Regions from separate parts of the Homo sapiens genome. Here region 1 is linked to region 2. Evidence: promoter capture Hi-C in 16 types of primary human blood cells and fetal thymus (Javierre and others, 2016). All regions are on one chromosome and are shown on one strand. Each heading gives the region's core, a stretch centred on a gene start or on the middle of the fragment in contact. The rest is flanking DNA. Distances are from core to core; before and after follow the strand shown. Region 1 has its middle 25 kb from the start of BEND3. Region 2 holds the start of SOBP (sine oculis binding protein homolog).

Region 1 (5,332 bases), core at 457-2,956, 350 kb before region 2:
TAGACCATATTGTGCAAATACTGTTCTAATCCAACCTCTTCCCTTTTTTTTTTTTTTTTTTTTTTTGAGGCTGAGTTTCGCTCTTGTTGCCCAGGCTGGAGTGCAATGGTGCGATCTTGGCTCACTGCAACCTCCGCCTCCTGGGTTCAAGCAATTCTCCTGCCTCAGCCTCCCGAGTAGCTGGGATTACAGGCATGCACCACCATGCTTGGCTAATTTTGTATTTTTAGTAGAGACGGGGTTTCTCCATATTGGCCAGGCTGGTCTCCAACTCCTGACCTCAGGTGATTCACCCGCCTCGGCCTCCCAAAGTGCTGGGATTACAGGCGTGAGCTACCGTGCCAGGTCCTGTCCTTTATGTTCAAAGAAGTCTCTAGACCTATTTTATAACCTGTATTCTTCTGATTAGAGTTTGTAAACCAGTGTTCCTTTACTATTACTCTATTTTACTTGCTTGCTTCATTGTTTTTTTTTTTTTTTTTTTTGAGATGGAGTCTCGCTCTGTCGCCCAGGCTGGAGTGCAGTGGCGCGATCTCGGCTCACTGCAAGCTTTGCCTCCCGGGTTCATGCCATTCTTCTGCCTCAGCCTCCCGAGTAGCTGGGACTACAGGCGCCCGCCACAACGCCTGGCTAATTTTTTGTATTTTTTTTAGTAGAGATGGGGTTTCACCATATTAGCCAGGATGGTCTCTATCTCCTGACCTTGTGATCCGCCCGCCTCGGCCTCCCAAAGTGCTGGGATTACAGGCATGATCCACCGCGCCCAGCCTAAGCTTCATTGTTATAAAAACACATTTCCTTTAACAGCATTTATCGAATGGCACCCTCTGTGGTAGGTACAGTGATTGGTGCCTTCAGGCAATTAGCAGCTATTCTTTACTAGTAAGCACGACTATCCAATTCCACAAGAAAGGAAGAAGAAACCTGGAGAATTTGTCTCATCACACCTGATAGATAAGCTAGGATTTGAGGTTTTTTTGTTTTGTTTTGTTTGTTTTTTTTGAGACAGTCTCGCTCTGTTGCCCAGACTAGAGTGCAGTGGCTGGATCTCTGCTCACTGCAACCTCCGTCTCCCAGGCTCAAGTGATTCTCGTGCTTCAGCCTCCTGAGTAGGTGGAACTACAGGCGTACGCCACCACGCCCAGCTAATTTTTGTATTTTTTGTAGAGATGGGGTTTCACCATATTGGCCAGGCTGGCCTCGAACTCCTGGCCTCAAGCGATCCACCTGCCTCGACCTCCCAAAGTGCTGGGATTACAAGCATAAGCCACCACGCCCAGCCAAGAAGCTAGGATTTGAACCCAGATCTGTTTATTCCATTGGTTATCTTCCACTATTTTCAAAGAGAATCTGATCCCAAGAAGCCCACAGTATAGTGGGAAAGACACAAATAATCTCATTCTATGGTTTACCTTTGTATCCAAGGCAGTGCTATGCACATAGTAACACTTAATAAATGTCAATGAAAAGAAGGCATTAACTTATCCTGGTTTCTTACTTCTTTTTCTTTTTTTTTTTTAGATGGAGTCTCACTCTGTCACGCAGGCTGGAGGGCAGTGGCGTGATCTCGGCTTACTACAACCTCCGCCTACAGCCTCCGGAGTAGTTGGGACTACAGGCACGTGCCACCATGCCCAGCTGACTTTTGTTTGTATTTTTAGTAGAGACAGGGTTTCACTGTGTTAGCCAGGATGGTCTCGATCTCCTGACATCATGATCTGCCCGCCTCGGCCTCCCAAAGTGCGGGGATTACAGATGTGAGCCACCGCGCCCGGCCTCTTATTTTTCCGTTGATGGTTTCTAAGTCAGGGGAATCACAATCTGGTAAAATAAAGAAGCAAAGAGGATTGTTAAGGAAACACAAATTTGAGCCGGGCGCGATGGCTCACGCCTGTAATCCCAGCACTTTGGGAGACCAAGGCGGGCGGATCACCTGAGGTCAGGAGTTCGAGAGCAGCCTGACCAACACGGCGAAACCCCGACTCTACTAAAAATATAAAATTAGCTGGGCGTGGTGACGCATGCCTATAATCCCAGCTACTTGGGAGGCTGAGGCAGGAGAATCGCTTGAACCTGGGAGGCGGAGGTTGCGGTGAGCTGAGATTGCACTCCAGCCTGGGCAACAATAGCAAAAACTCCATCTCAAAAACAAACAAACAAACAAACAAACAAACAAACAAAAAAACAAAAAAAGGAAACACAAATTTGGAGACAAAATAGAAAGAGCCTATGTCACACAGTGATTTTCTTCCTCTGCACAGTTACTATAACAGGTCATCAGTCACTTTGCAAAAACGTCCATTATAAATCAGGGCTACTTCCATTTTGTACTATTTATCTTTCTAATGTATTTAATAAAAACCCATTAAGGAATATAAAAATATAATTTTAGTATTATTTTCTCCTTCCTGTAATCAGTTTTATAACGCTGATGTTGAACATAACGGAGCAAGCAACTATATGTAACTGTAGAAATTATTGCTAGGAATTTGCATATGAAATACACACCTTTTACTGCCTTTAGTTGGCTTTGTTAACTAGGTTATAAATAGTACAGTTGACATACCAGAAACGGAAAGCACTTTTTGATGAGCACATGCTATGAATGGAAGAAGTGTTCAAACACAGTGTTTAATTTGGAAAGCTTTCATTAGAACTAGCTAAAGGGGAAAGTGGTTTATTTCCTAATCATAGCCTTGCTTAATAATCCAATCATATAGAAAGACTTATGGAAAAGCTTTCTAAAAACAGATATTTATGCTACAATTTGGGTAAACAAGTGATACATCTAGTCTATAAACATATGTTGATGGTGTTGGTGGTCACTTTTAAGAAAATTGAACTTTGGGAGGTCGAGGCGGGTGGATCACGAGGTCAGCAGACCAAGACCATCCTGGCCAACATAGTGAAACCCGTCTCTACTAAAATTACAAAACTTAACTGGGTGTTGGGGCATGCGCCTGTAGTCCCAGCTACTAGGGAGGCTGTGGCAGGAGAATTGCTTGAACCCAGGAGGTGGAGGCTGCAGTGAGCGGAGATCGCACCATTGCACTCCAGCCTGGGCGACAGAGCGAGACTCTGTCTCAAAAAAAAAAAAAAAAGAAAGAAAAAGAAAAAGAAAATTGAGCAGTTTGGATTAAATATTAAATAATTTCCCTCTGTGTATATGTGGAGAGGCAAAGGAAGTCATAGGACTAAGATATAAAATTGGAAAGTGCAGTTTATATTTATACCACTTTCAAAAGAGAAAGCTCATACTATGTCATTTTGCTGAAATCACATACCAGAATTTGAAATTTTGAAAACTATTTGAAGAACTTTATTGAGCTAGAACAAAAAGATGCCATTCATTTTGACTGCATGAACATAAAAACTATCATTAATAGGGCAGCGTTTTTGCTGATATTTTATATTGCTAGAGGGCAAAAATTCAATAAATGTTACTATGCAGGCTGTTTCAATCATTATAAAGTATAGAAACAAAGGCTGGTGATGACTTTTGTAAATGACAAATATAAAATTTGCAGAAATCGTTATATTTTTATAGGATGCAATAATTGGGTTTTCAAGCTTTTTTTTTTTTTTTTTTTTTTTTTGCTATGGTTGTGAAGCAACTACGACACAGATTTAATGCTGCTACTCATCCAGATGACAGTGAGGTGAGGGGACTAGGGACAATTTTTTCTTCTCACACATTTGTTTTTAGCCATCTATATTTGCCTCAGTGTCTTGATACCATGGCGATAACTTAGCAACAGCTAGATACAAATTAAGGTAATCTGTCATACCAGCCTCTGATCATCAAAAGTTGGGAGGTAGGACACTGGGAAGAAAAATATAGATGTTTAATGGCTTAAGAAAAAAAAAGCTTGATCTCTCTGCTACCTGCTCTTGTCCATTTCTTCATCTCACTTTCATATATATCTGAAAAAAGAGATGACAATCTAAAAAAATTCCCAACCAACCCCAGTGTTAAAATTAATTAGATAAAATGAAATTTAAAGATTTCTTAAATAGGGGAAAAACAATACACGTTATCCTTTCTTGAACAGGAACTAATGATCACAAAGGTACAAAAAAAGTGCAGTGGCACGGTCTTGGCTCACTGAAATCTCTGCCTCCCATGTTCAAGCGATTCTCTTGTGTCAGCCTCCCGAGTAGCTGGGATTACAGCCATGCGCCACCATGCTGGCTAATTTTTGTATTTTCAGTAGAGTTGGGGTTTCACCATGTTGGCCAGGCTGGTCTCGAACTCCTGACCTGAGGGCATCGTCCAGCCTTGCCCTCCCAAAGTGTTGGGATTACAGGTGTGGGCCACCATGCCCAGCCCATAAAAAGTGTTTTGCAAAGACATTTCAAAGAGATTTTTCCATACTAATGGACATTCAATTTCTGTTGATGGTTGTTAGGAGGACAAAGTTACATAAAATATAAATACCTTTGGACTAGCAGACTTGTATGACATAATGGATTCTGCCATTTTAAAAGTCAACATACCATATAATGCCTTTCCCTATCTTTATCATAATTTATGTGCAAATCAGAGAAAGTAAAATAATTTAAAAGGAAGAATATAACATTTGGAAAGTAAATAAAATCTTGATTTTCAGGGCTACTGATTTTATTTCAAATACTTACCTAGAAAATGGTAAAATACAGCCAGGCGAGGTGGCTCACCCTTGTAATCCCAGCACTTTGGGAAGCCGAGGTGGGCGGATCACTTGAGGACAGGAGTTCAAGACCAGCTTGGCCAACATGGTGAAACCTCGTCTCTACCAGTTGAACAGAGATGGCTGCCCAACTTGTGTGCTGGCTCAGACGTGTGAATAGTGGCTCCCTGGAGTGCTGTGTTGAGGATTCTGAGGCTGAATGCAGTGGCCCTTGCCTGTAATCCTAGCACTTTCGGAGGCCAAAGGGGGACGCTTGAGCCCAGGAGTTTGAGACCAGCCTGGGTGCCATAGTGAGATCCCCATCTCAAATAAATAAAAAAATAAAGAGAGGATTCTGAGGGTTGGTAGGAAAAGGGCTGTGAATGATGAGTAAATGTCTGCTAGGACTGGGAGGGAGACTAGCGGGTAAAAGACTTGTTAAGTGAAATAGGGGGGTGATGGATAGGAAGGAGGGTGAGCCCAGAGCACCCGAAAATACTTTAAATTTATTTTGTCTTACATGTGATATTAAAATGAATCCGAATCTTATGTTCAACTCCATAATATATGCTTGGAATGCCACAAAAGTTTTGAAAAATCATTTGTAGTTAAAGTACCTAATTTTAACTTTGTGGAAGAAAAATGTTGCTAGACAATGTGCACGCTCCTTTTGTGGCTTCCAC
Region 2 (5,482 bases), core at 1,932-4,431:
CCTTGAAGGGTAAAAGAAGTCACAAAATTGTACCTGAGGAATGTATGAAAGATCAGTCCTGTACCCATCTTGATGACTAGCAGGGGTAGTAGAGGGAAAATTGAGGATTAATTGCATGTCTGGAGCCTTGGGTGATATGTGTGGGTATAGAGAGAGAAAGCAAGCACGCAGGAGAGTGCTAGTGGTTGGGGAGCAAAAGGATACGTCATTGGAGCAGGAGTGGGGCTCCTCTGAAATGCGTATAATGTGTTGTTCCTACCTGTGTAGTTATACTCTTATGGATTATGAAGTTATTCAGGGAACATTATTTAACTCATGGTATATCTAAATTCATAAAGCATCATCTGTTGTTATAATTGTTTTCGTCTACAGTAGATATGAAGAAACCTAGGGTCATTAAAAGGTGTAACAATCATCATTACTTCTGAAGTTCATTCTAGACTAAAAGTTTTCCTCAGATATACTTTATGAGCCTTCTTTCTGTCACCAAAGATGTGCATTGTGGATTTCAATACAATGTTCTCACCTCAGTTTTCTGAAGGACATATGTTTGTGAAGGAACAGGTGGCTGTTTAATATCATTATTTTTATTAAATGCCTGAACCATCACAGAATAAGTAATTTTCTTTAAAGAAGTATAGCTGCCTCTAAATATAACTCTGGGCTACAGTTCACCTTTTCTGTTTATTTTATTCTTAACTTGTGAAACTGTATCTTAGGACTTGGGGTATATAACTTGCTATTTGATATCAGCTGCTCAACAGTGAATCAGTTGTAATGCTTCTGGCACCAAAGGAAACAGAGGGGACTTAAATATGTTTACAGAAGACAAAAAGCTGCTTTTTGCGTACAGTTTACAACATATGTTTCCACAGTTTTAGAATATTAAAAAGCCCCCCAAAAAGTTTTCTCACTATTTCCCTCATTAAAGACTAACAGGATCAAACAGAGAAAACAACTCTCCAACCCACATATTATTTATCAGATGTTTTGGATGAAATTCAATTTAAAAAACCAAAAGTCTCTCTCTTCCTCTCCCTCTCCCAGCAACAGCATTAGGGAGATACTCCCCACCGCAAAATACACCCACTCACCCACTGGCGAATGTTGCACTATCATTCCAGGAGTGGGGGGAGGTTGCTGCGACAGCTTTAGGCTCCTCTCCGCGTTATTGGGTCGTCGTAGGTGCGCTGTGGGCTGCTGCGGGCTCTGAGACCCGGCCACAGGACTCGCGGCTCACGACCTGAGTGTACCTAGATAGGTTCTCAGAGGCTACTGGGAAAATCGCAAATACAGGACGCCTGTACTGCAAAGCTCCCCTAAAACCTCATCAGTCTTCCTCTCTTGACTCTTGGGCGTCCCAGGAATTTTAACTTTTCCTCGGCGTAAGTGTTTCTCGCGCGGACCCCTTGCAGGCGCAAAGCCTGGCTCGCTCTGGCCTCCTGGCTTGCCCAGGATCTAGGCAGCCACGGGGAGCAGGGTGCAGCTTCCCCTCGCCTCCCCGGGACGGGGAAGAGAAGAAATCAGGAGGGAGGAGGTACTCAGCCCTCCTGGGTGCACTCCCAGATGTTTTTAAGTTGGCGTTTATTAAAAACAAAATGATGCTAAAATGCAAAATAGGCAACGTGGAGGTACTCAGCTCTCCTGCGTACACGCCCATGTATCTCTAATGTGACATTTAAGAAACAAAACAATGCTAAAATGCAAATTAGGCGATGTAATACCCAGAATGAGCCTCGTTTGACAGGCCAAACTGAGATTTAATGGAAAGCTTACTCATATCCCCACACGGAATTCATTCTTTTAGGAACTTAAAAAAATTGTGTAATTTTAAGTTCCACCACTGTCATAACGAACACTCCACAGTAACATGCAGTGGAACAATGGACACCCCCATATCGCATTGTGTCAGGTAATTATGAAGTGTCGAGGCGCGGGAAGGAGAAGCCGGGAACGTCAATGTGTCCTCTGCAACGTGTGGGAGCGCTCAGAGCCGCGCGTATCACAGAAACATCATCCAGTCGTCACCCCCAATGCCTCAACCCAGGGACAGGGACAGACTCAATCAGACCTCGGCCCCAGGCGTGGCAGGAGAGGGCCAAAGAGGGGACTTGTGAGCGCAGAGGGAGCGAGCACCGCTCCATGGAGGGCAGGCGCTAGCTGGGAAGTCGGGAGGAGAAAGTGCAACCAGGCGGGGAGGGGAGGATCCCACCGGGGCGTGGCGAGGGCGTTCGGGGTCCGGGTGAGCGGGACCCTACGCGGGACCGTGCGCTCCCAGAAGCTCCCACTCAGCCCAACCTTTTGGGCGAAACCCAGGACACCCAGATAAGGGTGCAGGCGGGGTCACGCGTAAAGCTGTTACTTTGAAGCAGGGCATAAGTGAGAGAGAGATAAAGAGAGAAGGAACAAGGGGAAAAAGAAATGAAGGGGCTGAAGGCCGAGATGTCCTACTTCTAAGTAGTTCTTTGAGAGGCAAAAGCTTCATTGCCATTGCAGTCCGAGGCAGCGCCGCGTGGAGGACCGGCCGGGCGGGGCGCGGGGACCTCTCCAAGGGGTCTCCAGCCTCCGCGCACTCTGCGGTGGCCCCCGGAGGGGGAAACTATTCTGGCAGCTCAGTGGGGGGAAGCTCGTCCGGGCTGTGGTTTCCTTTCCCCGAGACCCCAGCGTTGCACCCCCGAGGCGGCAGGCTCAGTCAACCCTCCCCGGGGGACGGCGGCCCTCTAGCCAGGCGACCTCAGGTCTCGCGACCTCCCGCCGCCCAACCTTCTCCTTTCACCCCCATTCATTTTTCCTCAGCGGCTCCTAGGACGGGCTCAAAAACCAACTCCACACGCAACCCAGCCCACCTCGCGGAGCTGAGAAGCAGGGCTGGGTTCCGAGCGGGCGCCGGCGCCCCTGGCGTGTGGCGGGGAGGTGGCGGCCGCGGGGGGCGCCGCGAGCCGCCCGTGCCCGCCGCGGATGAACAGGCGGCTGCGAGCAGCCCCCGGAGCCGCGCAGCATCCGCGTATCCAGTGACGGTGGAAGCCACGCCCGCTCGAGAGCCGGGGGGCTGTCCTCGCCCCCCCCACCTTTCCCCTCCCTCCGACCCCCTCCCGGCCGCGCTCCCTCCCCTCCTCCCGCGCCGGCCCCCGGCCCGCCCCCGGCTCGGCTCGCGGGAGGCGCTGGGCGCCGGGGCTGGCGCGCTCTCCCGGGCTCACACACAGCCGCGCACGCACGCCCGGGGCCGCTCTCCGCGCCGGCCCTTGCTCCCCGCGCCCATGCGGACGGACCGAGCGACGGAAGATGGCTGACGACTCCACGGGGCCCCGAGGATGCGGCCCGGCGGCGGCGGCGGCGGGAGCGGCAGCGGCAGCGAGGGCGGCAGGGGCAGCGGCAGCAGCGGCGGCGTTGGCTGCGGCGGCGGCGGCGGCGGCAGCAGGAGCCGGAGCGACGGCGGCGGCATCCCCGAGACTCTCCGCACTATCCTTACCCGTGACAGCCACTGACGTCCTCCGCCGCTAGAAGAGACCCCGCTTCTCGGCGCCTGCCCTCCCCCTCGCGGCTCGGTCCGGCCCCGCCAGCACCGCTACCTCCGCCAGCCTCGCCACCATCAGCACCACCTCCACCGCCGCCGCCGCCGCCACCACCACCGCCGGCGGCGGCAGCAGCCATTTCATCTCCACAGAAACCAGACACAAAAACATGGCAGAAATGGAGAAAGAAGGGAGACCTCCCGAAAATAAACGGAGCAGGAAGCCGGCTCACCCAGTGAAAAGGGAGATCAATGAGGAGATGAAGGTATTTTTTGATCTCGGGGGCCAGGGAGACTGAGCTCTTTCTTGCGCCCGCTCCCCGTGGGCCGTGGTATGGATCTGGGGGGTACCGGGGCGCGCTTGTCAGTTTCTGTAGGATGCCCAGAACGGCTCCGCTCCTCCTCCAGGTGTAAAGCAGAGGCCAACTCGAGGGCTGCATCCCCGAAATTGTTGCCAACCTCAGATTTGATGAGGGGGGACCACATACTATTTAACCTTACGAATCCCAGGTTGGCACGGACGCGTTTCAGGGCGAGGGCACCGGGGACTCGAGCGGCGTTGGGCAGGGGAAGAGGCTTTCCCAGTGGACGGTGCAGTTTCTCCCCCCTTTTTGAGAATCATCCTCAGGGTCCCTCCAAAGTTAGGAGCCTCCTGGCCGGGGCACCCCGGAGAGAGCTCTATTCCACCCCTCTCCCCCAGCTCACCCTCCTGCTCCTCAATCCCGCTTCCCCCCAACCAACCAGCTGCGACGGCGTGAAGAGCCCGTCAGTGCCCGGCGAGCTGCGGCCCGAGAGGCGCGGGTCTGGGCACGGTCCTGACCGCTCTCCTCGCCCGCCCCCGCCCGCACCTCACCACTGGCAGCCTCCGCCTCCCGCTCGCCTCTGCCTGCCTCACTTCCCAGCCAAGCAGACCCCGGCCAGCCCCGCTGGAGGACAGCTGTCTGAGGGGCGGCCTTTGCAGGGCGCCTGTCCATTGTTCGCTAAGGCCGGCCCGGAGTCCTCTCGGCGAGGCTGGGCTCCCCGCCAGGCCAGCGGTGCACCAGAGGTGGAGAGCGCAGCAGCCTGGCGCTCCAGCTGTTCGCGTTAGAGCAATTGCACAAGAGCACCGCTCAGCTCTGGACCCCCTCGTTGCCCCCCACCTCCTTATTTTCCATGAAGTTGCGGCTTTTGCCTGGGCGAGGGTTTTATTCTGTGTTGATTTCACGAGTCTCTATTGATATAAAACAATTTATTTATTTTTCTGCGAGCCATCAAAAAGTAGCAGGTTTGCATTTTGCGGTCTTCTTGGTGTTCCCCATCTTCTGCATGAAATCCTTAATACTACCAGGTGGCTTAATACTACTACTTGGCCAGTTTTGGTTCAGTTTGTATTTAAAAAACAAACTGGATGAAAATGGTGTGCAAGTAAGTCAAATTTATTGCGCTTTGACGCTTTCTTCATTAGAACAAGCATTTTCTATCATAGCTCACGCTTAGCAGGGGACGCATGGATATATATCATATATGTATGCGTACCTAGGTGCATATGCTTAGCTTTACTTCTCAGAAATGTCAGAAGCAACCTAAATATCAGAATTAGGGGTTTTATTACTGGATAAGGAACTTAGTACCTGGAAGCATGAGGTGCAGCATGAGTCCAACGGAGAGTTAAGGGAGATTTGCCTTGGAAATCAATGCTGTTTCTTATGGTGGAAACCACTGTTGATTCCAATGATGGACAGTTTTATTTTATTTTTTTTAAGACCGGTAGAAGTTGTTGTTTTTTGATGGGAACAAAATTCAAACAGTCCATAATAACCATTCTTCCTCACTTACCCTTACCTCCTGTCCTGCATTTCCAGTTTACTTTTGCATTTCATTTTAGGTTGGGGGTGGGGAAGGGGGAGAGAGGTGAAAGCCACTAGGAAATCACAAGGAGCTCTGGCCCTTTAAAACGCTGCCTAATGTGATCTATATGGATGGCAGCTTTTA

Evidence for each region. Contacts are between HindIII fragments. The CHiCAGO score rates a contact against its expected background, and 5 or more counts as called.
Region 1: a fragment that was not itself captured here is called in contact with the fragment with the promoter of SOBP in region 2 in 1 of 17 cell types (erythroblasts); the score reaches 5.5 in erythroblasts.

The regions. Positions count from the first base shown.
Region 1 is chr6:107,138,219-107,143,550 of GRCh38, forward strand. No RefSeq gene overlaps it. Among named protein-coding and RNA genes, the nearest start is that of BEND3, 25 kb to the left of the region's middle. The HindIII fragment of the contact is 1,871 bases long and covers 772-2,642 here.
Region 2 is chr6:107,486,936-107,492,417 of GRCh38, forward strand. It overlaps SOBP (sine oculis binding protein homolog), which reads left to right and starts at 3,182. Exons shown (of 7, transcript NM_018013.4): 1 at 3,182-3,777. The coding sequence starts at 3,682. RefSeq lists silencers at 3,412-3,461, 3,502-3,561. The HindIII fragment of the contact is 8,594 bases long and covers 2,478-5,482 here.